Linked DNA regions of Homo sapiens: region 2 is linked to region 1. The links are contacts of gene promoters, found by promoter capture Hi-C in human tissues and cell types (Jung and others, 2019). All regions are on one chromosome and are shown on one strand. Each heading gives the region's core, a stretch centred on a gene start or on the middle of the fragment in contact. The rest is flanking DNA. Distances are from core to core; before and after follow the strand shown. Region 1 holds the start of SLC13A2 (solute carrier family 13 member 2). Region 2 overlaps SARM1 (sterile alpha and TIR motif containing 1).

Evidence for each region. The method cuts DNA at HindIII sites, captures the fragments that hold promoters and counts their contacts. A contact is called where the count stands out against the background at its distance.
Region 2: a fragment that was not itself captured here is called in contact with the fragment with the promoter of SLC13A2 in region 1 in 8 of the 25 tissues and cell types used here (IMR-90 fibroblasts, aorta, dorsolateral prefrontal cortex and 5 more).

What each region holds. Positions count from the first base shown.
Region 1 is chr17:28,471,286-28,476,052 of GRCh38, reverse strand. SLC13A2 (solute carrier family 13 member 2) reads right to left here and starts at 2,409. Exons shown (of 12, transcript NM_003984.4): 1 at 2,239-2,409. The coding sequence starts at 2,340. The HindIII fragment of the contact is 27,138 bases long and covers 1-4,767 here.
Region 2 is chr17:28,394,896-28,399,662 of GRCh38, reverse strand. SARM1 (sterile alpha and TIR motif containing 1) reads right to left here. Exons shown (of 9, transcript NM_015077.4): 8 at 3,637-3,758; 9 at 1-3,506. The coding sequence ends at 3,377. It overlaps SLC46A1 (solute carrier family 46 member 1), which reads left to right. Exons shown (of 5, transcript NM_080669.6): 5 at 1-4,767. The coding sequence ends at 7. Among named protein-coding and RNA genes, the nearest start is that of SLC46A1, 8.9 kb to the left of the region's middle. RefSeq lists enhancers at 1,078-1,167, 1,932-2,615, 3,299-3,982. The HindIII fragment of the contact is 9,060 bases long and covers 1-4,767 here.

The DNA of each region.
Region 1 (4,767 bases), core at 1,160-3,659:
AGGAAGGGTTTTGGTTTGGACGTGGAAAAGTGTAACCTGCTTATCCTGCTTACAAAGAAAATATTCAATTAGGGAGATGGCTGGTGTTCATTGGATAATACCAGTTTAGAGTTTAGGGCTGGGGTTACAGATTGATAACTCATTGGCATAGAGATGCTTTTTAAAGCACGAGATGGCATAAGATCAGCTAGGGGAAGTGGGGACCCTGGAAAACCTCAGAGTCAGATGGAGAAGGAACCTCAGAGTCAGGAAAGGTGGGAAGGGGCAGGGCTGGGCAGGAACCAGGAGAAGGTGTCACCAAAGCCAAGAGAAGACAGCACGGCAAAGACGGGGTGACAGCTGTGACAAATGCTGCCGAGGGACTGAGGAATGTGAGGGTGGCCCAGGGTTTGGTCACAAGGAAGTTGATGGGATCTGAGTCTTGGAGATGGGAGCTGACAAAAGAGAAAGTGCGCTTGTGGTGTAGACAGTGTCTTGAGACTTCCTGTTATGAGAGAGAGCAGAGAAAGAGGCACTATCCTGGAAGGAGCGTGGCCTTGAAAGAGAGCTCTTGTTTGTTTAAGATGAGAGATATTACAGCACCTCCGTATGTGGATGGGGGAGATCAGGCAGAGAGGAAATATTTATCTTGTAGGAGAGTGAGAGGACAATTGCAGGAGCAAAGTCCTTGAGAGGGGCTGGCCTCTCCTAGACAGGACCAGAGTCAGGATGGGGCTGGCAGCATCTGTGAGCCAGAGGCAGGTAGCAGGGCCAGATACGGTGCACAGAAGACAGGGGCTCCTAACACATCCCAGTCTCACCAACAGGCATGGCTTCTAGCACTGACTCAGGATTTCCTGTGTGACCTGGGCAAGTTACTGAATCTTTCTGTGCTGTGCTTCCCCAGGTCGAGGGGAATTGGGAAGAAATCAAAATCCCTGTCTGGCTTCCCTCCTGGGGTTAACACACTTGCCCCAGCCTGTCGGAAAACCCATCTGATGGGTCCCTAGCACTGAGATGCCACCGGCTTTGGCCTGAGATGAAGGTCATCTCAAAGGTCAGCTGGGCCTTGTTACTGACCAGGTGTCAGGGGCCCAGGGGCTGTGCCACTATCACCCCCAGTCTCTCACCCCTTTGGGATACCATGAACAAAAAAGTCTGACTCAATTTCTCTATCTATGACAAAAGGAAGAAAATGGCTTGATGGGCAGTTCTGGGGGTGTGGGGTGGGGCAGGAGGCAGCAGGGTGGAGAGAAGACATGCTTTGGCACCAGATCACACCCCCAGCTCTGAACCTCCCAGCTGTGTGATTTGCCAGAGGCCGACTGACTGAAGATTGAACTTCAAGGCCTTCCCCCTGGACCCTTCCCAAAGCCCCAAACTAATTTCAGATTAATACTTTTGTGTCCTTTTTCTTACAGAGTGGGGCCCAAAAGTGTATAATATCCAAGTTCCATGAAACTTGGATCTGCCCTGGGACTTTGACTAAGTGACTTAACCTCACCTTCCCCATTTGTCAAATGGGACAGTCAGGCCTGACCTCTTAAGATGGTGGAAAAGGTTACTGGGTGCCTAGGGCAGGGCAGGCATTGGCGGCTTGATTTAATGAGAGATGAAGTTATGACTTCTGCTGGGGGCGGAGGAGGAGGCAGTGACGCCTGGTTGTGCCCAGCTCCCCCTCCATCCAGGGCACAGTTTTTGTGCTGTCTACCTGCAGCGGTCCCCTCTTCCAACTCCCACCCCTCCTCCTCCACAGACTTAGCCCTTGAATCCACAGGTGAACTCTTTCTCTTCCTGTTTATGCTCTTAAAGATGCAGACCGCCTGCAGCCAGCTTTCTCCTATTCTCCTTCCAACCCTCTTCACTCTGCTGCTGCTTACCCAGCCGTCCCCTCCCCACAGCCAGCCCATCTCAGCCGCCATGGAGCCCAGTCCAGGGCTAGGTGGGCACACAGTAGGTAGATCAGCTCCATCTGCCCCCCTTGCATCTTGTTGATGGAACTGGTTTCCTGTTTCCTAGGGCAGTAGGTTGCAAACCCACCTAAGTAATTCACGCTGGGCTCCTACAACTGGGTGCCAAGCAAAAGCCCCTTTGACCTCCTAGCCCTCAGTCCTCAGGAGGAGCAGGGGGCGATAGCCTCACTTCCAGGGCAGGGGCAGTGAGGAAGTTATGCTGGATCCTAAGGATGCCCAACCCCGGCCCAGACAGTCCCTCCTCTGCCCCCTGGAGTTATCTGTGCTCAGAACACCAAGTCCTTACCTTACTGGGGACGAGGATGGGCAGAGGCAGCAGGAGAATGGGCACGAAGAACACGATCAGGTAGGAGCGATAGGCCCACAGGGCCTGCCAGCAGGTGGCCATGGTGTGGAGCAGCAAGGGCTGCTACAGCCACTGCCTCCAGGAGCTGGGTAACAGAAGGACCAAAGATGCAGCCAAGCAGGCAGGTGGCAGGCTTATATAAAGCCAGTTGAGTGTTAACCATTGACCCAGTCTGGCAATCAGAGTGTTTTTGGAGTTGGGGAGGTGAGAGTAAGGAGGAGGGACCCACAGGCGGAGTAAAGATCAGGAAGGGAGAGGGAGAAGGAAGGAGGAAAGAACAAGGATTAAAAAACTTCAGGTTCCTTCAAGAAGTTAATCCCAGCGTTAACTCCTTCTGTTCTTGGAGGCTGCTGAGGGTGGTGCTGGAGGAGCTGGAGAAGGAAGGAGAGTCCCCCAGCCACCCTCCACAGGCAGCCCCCAAGCCACCTCCGCTGGCCCGGCCTTTCCTTTCTGCTGTTCTCCAAAGCTAGGTTCTCAGCTGAGCACTTTATGTGACAGCCTGGGTGGGGTGGCCCTGCCCTGCCCACAGAGATGCCCTAGGAATTTTCAGTCTAAGATTGACAGTAGCTAAGGCCTGGAGCAAGTCCTCCTCCTCCTCCTTCCAGGTATCGAGGACCATCAAAGTCCCTGGTCCTGACTACATCTTGTGTGACACTGATCCACCGACTTAACCTCTCAGAATTAGCCACTTCCTTATTCTGCAGTAATATCTTGCTATTGTGAGGCTCAAATTAGACAACTTATATATGTTGAGCTTTGATGCATGGCAGGTGTACGATGAAGGTTAGTTTCTTTCAGGCTCTTCCTAGCCCCCTCGCCCCCCAGCAAAGATTGTCTCTTATTTTGGAAACATACTAGATCTCTCATTTATCCATCATCCATCCATCCATCCATCCATCCATCCAACCATCCATCCATCCATCCCTCCACCAAGCAAGTATTTAGTACCAATTATGTATTCAGCCCTGTGCTCAGTGCTAAAGATACAGAGATTAAAATGCTGCTGCTGCTGCTGGTGGTAAAGACTGACATTTGCTCAGCACTTAGTACAAGTCAGTTACTGTACTTCATCAACTCGGTAACTACACCATGGGTTAGGTGTTACTATTCCATTTAACAGATGGGGGAACTGAGGCCAAAGGACATGGAGCCAGCCAGAATTCACACATGCATTATGGGTATCCTGAGGGAGGTCCAAACCAGGGCAGAAGCTCTGGGTGAAAGGCACCAGGCAAGGGCTCCTGGAAGAGATGGCATCTGAGCGAAGGCTTGAGAGCTCAGTCTTACTTGGCACGAGGTGATAGGGGAAGGGGCACAAGGAGAGGGAAGAGTGAACGAAGGCCTGGAGGGTGGCAAGTGCATGCGTGTGTGTGTGTATGTATGTTGAACGGAGCAAGTTGTAGTTTGGAAGAAATTGTGGGTCTTATCTCTGGCCAGACCCTCAGTCTCCTGGCGCCCTCACCCCTCCTCACCCTGACTGCACGCAGTTGAAGGTCAATGCATGTTTCTGAGGTTATCAGAGTATGATGATCCGTGTGTGCTAGGATAAGGAGGCGGGGTATCAGGGAGAATGTTTCAGGCAGCGAAGACAGTCTGGGAAGAGATGCAGAAGCGTGGGGACGTTTAGAGAACAGAAGGTTCTGCGTGGTTGGAATGTGGATTTGCGGGGGACAGGATTAAGAGCTGATAACTATAGTTTTAGGTGTACCATAGCATGGCCTGGGCTGTTATGCCACCGAGACACTCCTGGAGCCAGTGGATCTTTTAGAGAAAGGCCCCTGGTGCTTTCTGCAGGGCGGTCCTAGAGGTCAGAGGGATCCAGTTCGAGGGCTCCTGGAGCGAGGCCAGGCTGGTGGGATGCTACAGTAACAGAGTACAGGCTAGCCACCCCAGCCCCCCTTCAGGCATGGCTCCTTCACTCCCACACAGTGGCCTGCCACCTGCCCAGGGCAAAGTAAGCAAGAGCCAGGAAGGACAGGGAGAGACAAAGGGTTTCAGACACTCAGGACAATGCCCCGATTCTATCTCACCTTGGTGGAAGCCTCTCCCATGGCCTGAGGCTTTTAAGGAGCCACAAAAAAAAAAAAAAAAAAAAAAACCAGGCCCAGCTTCACCATGTGTAAAATCTGCATCCCAGTTTACCTAACTCTCCATACCAATTCTGTGATGTAGGCTCAGGGCAGTGAGGTTACTCGTCTAGAGTCACACACCTTGTGAGTAACAGAGAGAATGCAGATTTGTTTCCAGGAAGGCTGTGCCCTTGGCTCAGCCCTCCATTCTCTGGTCTCCTTTGATGGAGCTGGGACAAAACTCAATGTTTTACTGAGACCCTCTGGCTTCCCCCTACAGCCCTCTTCTAAGACATAGGCTTTTGGGACCTTCTTTGATTCTTTTTTGAGGCCCAGCACTGGGGGGCTATTGCATCACCAGCAGCCAGGCCCCATCAGTGATGAATTCATCTCAAAGCAG
Region 2 (4,767 bases), core at 2,268-4,767, 77 kb after region 1:
CCCCTGATCTGCCTGGACCAGAAGACAGAGGGCAAGAGGAGCAAAGTGAACACCAAGCAACTGGAGGTCTGCAGCTGGAAGCCCAGCCCACAGCAGGACAAGCAACTCTTGTCTAAGGGCAGTGCTCTCTTTGGACGAGGTAGTCAAGAGAGACCAAGGCACCACCCCATCCACAGCTGACCCAGCCTCTGTCTAGGATCTAGAATCATAACCCACACAGGCCCACTGCAGGACAGGTGGCAGAGGAGCTATTTGGGACAGGAGTCAGTTCTCCCTTTCTGCTATCCATCACTTATAACCCCACAGGCCAGAGGAGAGGTCCTGAGAGAGGTGACACTTCAGGGACCAGAGGCAGCACGAGGGCTGGCATCTCTCCTTCCAGCCCAAACTGCACAGCCCCAACCAGGTTCCCAACACGTGTAGCAGTCATCAGCCATTCCTTAACAATGAATGTGGTACCTGGTTAGTGCCAGCCTTGGGAAGGAGGGAGGGAGGTAAGAGGGGCTTGGTGATCTCTGGAGGAAGAGTGTTGCCTTTGCTGTGGTTGGGGAATCGATCCTTGGCTATGGCCTACCCACTCCCCTGGCTGAAGAGTGCCAATCATTACAAATCAGCTTCAGCAAACTGAAACAAACCTTCTGGTGCCTTGGGCTTTGGGGCCCTCTGTTTTCCTGCTCCCAGTCTGCCTGCCATACGTTAGACAACAGAAGCTGCTGGGCTGGGCAGGAGCCCTGAGCTGCCTGGTGGATTGGTACCAAGTGGGGCCAGCCAGGGCTTCTACTGACTCGCTGTGCAACCTTGAGCAAGCCCCACTAGGAACGGCTAGATCAGCAATGCCCCAAATTGTTGAATCGTGGTGATCACATTTGGATGGACAAGTTAGGAAACTTAGCTGATTCTCTGAGATACTTCCCACTTCCTCATACATTCTACAATGAGATGCCTCTCTTCATGGGCCTGGGGAAAGGATGAATGAGTGTGGCTGGACTTTTGACCTTTAATGTCCCTGAGCAGTTCTTGGCCCTTGGGGAGAAGTAGGGGGAGGATCTGGCTGACTCAGCCCCAACCGAGGGGTAGCAGCTGCAGCCCAGCCAAGCAGAACACCCTGGCCCTACAGACCTGTGTCTGAGCAGGCTTTGGAGGAAAGGCCACTTCTGAGTCCTCTGTCTCAGGAGAAGCCAGGCCTAGGTGCTTGACCTGGTGATCTGAGCTGTGTTTGTCCTAGTATGGGTGGCAGTCACCTCTGAACACACTGGCCTTGGCTTAGAGGAGGCTTGTGACTTCAGCTGTTCCAGCTGGGGCTGGATGCTGGACTCTGATTCCCTCAGAGAGACAGAAGATCGGGCAGAGGTCAACCAGAAGGCCACACAGGGCAGTGGACAACAGTGGAGGGTATACCAAATAGAAATAAAACGCAGGAAACCTCTCTGAATACTGCCCTTGGGGACCTCAGGAGGGAGTGGGACTGATTGGAGACAAAGAGCCAGAAATCATCCCCTGGAGATACTCAGACACTGTATTGTTATTGGCGCTGTCCTGTGAGGGCAGTGTCCAGGCTGCCCTGCTTGTCATATCCATGCCCTGGCTCTGGCCCCGGTGAGCACTTGTGCTGCATGAGGAAAGGAGGATCAGGTGGGGTCAAAACCAAAGCATCGAGGCTGGCACTGGCCAAGACAGACTCTGGCAGGGAGGGGAGTGGAAGGAAGGAGCCCCAAACCTGGAGTGAGACCTTTGACTTTCTGATGATGTGGCCAAGAACTAGGAGTCACCTGGCCAGCACAGCCAAGAGTGGGGCTGGGGGCGCAGCCAGCTTTAAGGTGTCAACACCTGGCCCTTGCGGGGAAAGAGCCTTCAGCAGCCCCCACGGCCTGGAGCCTGGGTTTATTGGAGGGTGCTTTCTTACCCTCTGAACCCAGTGGAGGAGGGGGCAATGGGATATTCCTGCTCTGTATGGCCTCTGGGTCAGCTTTTTGTTGCAAAATCCTATCCCCCGCTGCTAGATTCTTTGAAGCAAGGGAGAAGCAATAGCCCAGCCTCAGAATGATTCTCAGGAAAGCAATTCCACTGCCAGTGGACTGGGTGCCAGGAGGCCTAGGTCTGGATCTGGGGCTGCCACTAATGACAGGAAAGTGGGCTTATCCTCAACCTTTCTGAGCCTCAGTGTCATTATCTGTAAAATGGGGATGATAATACCAGGTAGAGTTGCTCTGATGACTGGAGACCATGGAGCGGAGTGTTTGGGAAATGGCAAAGATTTGTGAGGGCTTCGTGCTTTAGAGATTTGCTACCCTTAACCACCAGCATCAGCTCACCTGGGAATCTGTAAGAAATGCAGAGTCCTAGGCCCCACCCCAGATCTCCTGATTTTAACAACATTCCCAGGTGACTTGGATGCATGTTAAAGTTGGAGAAGCTGCCCTAAGTGACAACCCTTTGCCTTTTCAGGACTTTGCCTCTTTCCACAGAGCTGCAGGTTCTGTCTAGGCTGCTTTTACTGCCATGGGGGCTGCCTGGTCCCTGAGTAAGCAGTGGGTAGCCCTGGATGGCTGAGGGGCTGGGGAAGCCAGCTGGGCCAGACCAGGAAGGAGCCTGAGGCACAGCACCAAGGCATGGGGTAGGGTGGGCTTTGAGGCACGGCCTCCCCATGCCCAGACCCAGGCCCAAACAGGAGGCTCCTGTGCACCAGCAAGTGCAGCAAAGCTGGCTGCAGTGACAAGGAAGTCAGAGGGAGGGCTGGTTTGCCTCAACCCTCGCCCTGGATGTGGCAAAAGATACCACACCGAAGGAAGCTGTAGGGGATCTGGGACTTAGTCAGGCTAGCTAAGGGCACTGAGTGATTACAGGGCAAGGCCACAGAGCGGCAGGAAGTTGTAAGTGCAGGGGCCAGGCACAGTCTGAGTGGAGAGCCATGATGGCACTCATCCCTGGCTGGCTCCTGGGCCCAGGCCCTTGCTCAGAATACAGTGCCCAGGCCCGCCTGGGCATTGCCTTAATTCCTGTCTGAGGCTGCCTTCCGTCATCCTCCTCAAGCTGACTGCTATCAGCAGGAGAAGGGAATGCAGAACCACCCCCACCCCAACTCCAGTGTCTCCAGAACTGAGCAGGGACCCTCCCCATGACGGAGACAGACAACCCAATGGCAGGGCCTGGGGGAGTTCTAACCTCCCGTGCCCAAGCCTGACTTCCCTTCCCTCTCCAGATACTGAGGAAAGTGGGTTGGAGGTGGGCCATGAGGGTGGGGGACAGGGGGAGGGAGAGCCATTTCCTAAGAAGAGCCCAGGTTGTCTCAGCCCAGGGAGACTGGTTTCAGGAGCTGTTCCTTCAGAAAGGACGATGGAAATGGAAGTCACAGCAGGGCTGGGGAACTGGGGACTGGTTAGGTTGGACCCATGGGTGCAGCACCCTCCAAACTGGTGTCAGAGCCTGCAGATGAGTCCCGGGAGGAGCGGCCCTGCAGGAAGCGGATGATCTTCTCAATGGTGGCCTCCTGGTATTCGTGGGACCACCTGTGGGCACAGGAGCCAATGTGGTTCAGACAGCTGGGCAGAGGGAGCTGCTAGTCAGCTGTTTGCCCACACTCTGCCTGTCATGGTGATTTGTACCCTACCCCCCTGGTCCCAGGGCCCTGGGGCTCACTTGATACCGTTGAAAGTAAGCACAGCCTGCATGTCCTCAGGCAGGACCTGGGGCTCAGGCCACTCGAAGCCATCAATGATGGGCACAATGTTCTTGCCGCAGCTTAAAGCAGTCACAATCTCCTGGAGAAAGAAAGGAAAGGAGGAAGATACCCCTGTACCCATCTAGGGACCCTTGTAGCCAGGCAGGTGCTGGGAGGCCCACTGGCCCGAGGCTGGGCCCAGGGCAGGACACCAGTCCTGATGTCCACCTTGATGTCTACCTTAACCCTTGTAGTGTAATAAAAAATAAATATTTTTCCTTTGCCCAGAGTTCCTGGCACAGAGCTGCTAAAACCCTTGGAATCTCTTGAGTGATGAGTGTCTTTGTATGCTAAAGAGATGATTCCCCACTGGGGGCCCGGGGGGTGCTATGGGGGTAGCCTAGATAGTTTCAGGAAGAGGGCTGGTCACCAGGGAGACCAGGGCATGACTAGAGGATTGGAACTTTCAGCCCCACCTCCCAGCCTCCAGAGAGGTGCTGGAGATTGAGTTCAATCACCAATGGCCAATGATTTAATCAATCATGCCTACATAATGGAACCTCCATAAAAACCCCCAAACAAGGGGTTTTGAAGAGCCTCCAGGTTGATAAACAGGTGTAGGTGCTGGGAAGGTGGTAGAAGGCATGGCATCCACACCTCCACCCTCCATACGTAGAGATCCTATGTATCTCTTCCATTTGGCTATTCTTGAGCTGTGTCCTTTATAACTGTGAAATTAAATAATTCAGCTGGGCATGGTGGGTCACGCCTGTAATCCCAACACTTTGGGAGGCTGAGGCAGGAGGATCACTTGAGCCCAGGATTTTGAGATTAATAATATTATTTATTACTATTATTCAAGCTTTGTTAAATCAAACCTAAAGCTCTTGGAACTTTAAGTTATTCTGAGCCTTGACAGGAATTGGTCTCTGCAGCCTGAGTCATGGGGCATGCAGCTGCAACTTCCACCTATTTTTTTTTTTTCTGTAATTACTTAGGAAGACCAAATGGCACCAGAGATAAGACTCCCTTAGATCCCCACTTAGATCACCACCCTTTCTCAGGGGGTAATAAAGTCATCTTCCTTGGAATGTAGCAATCTATAACCA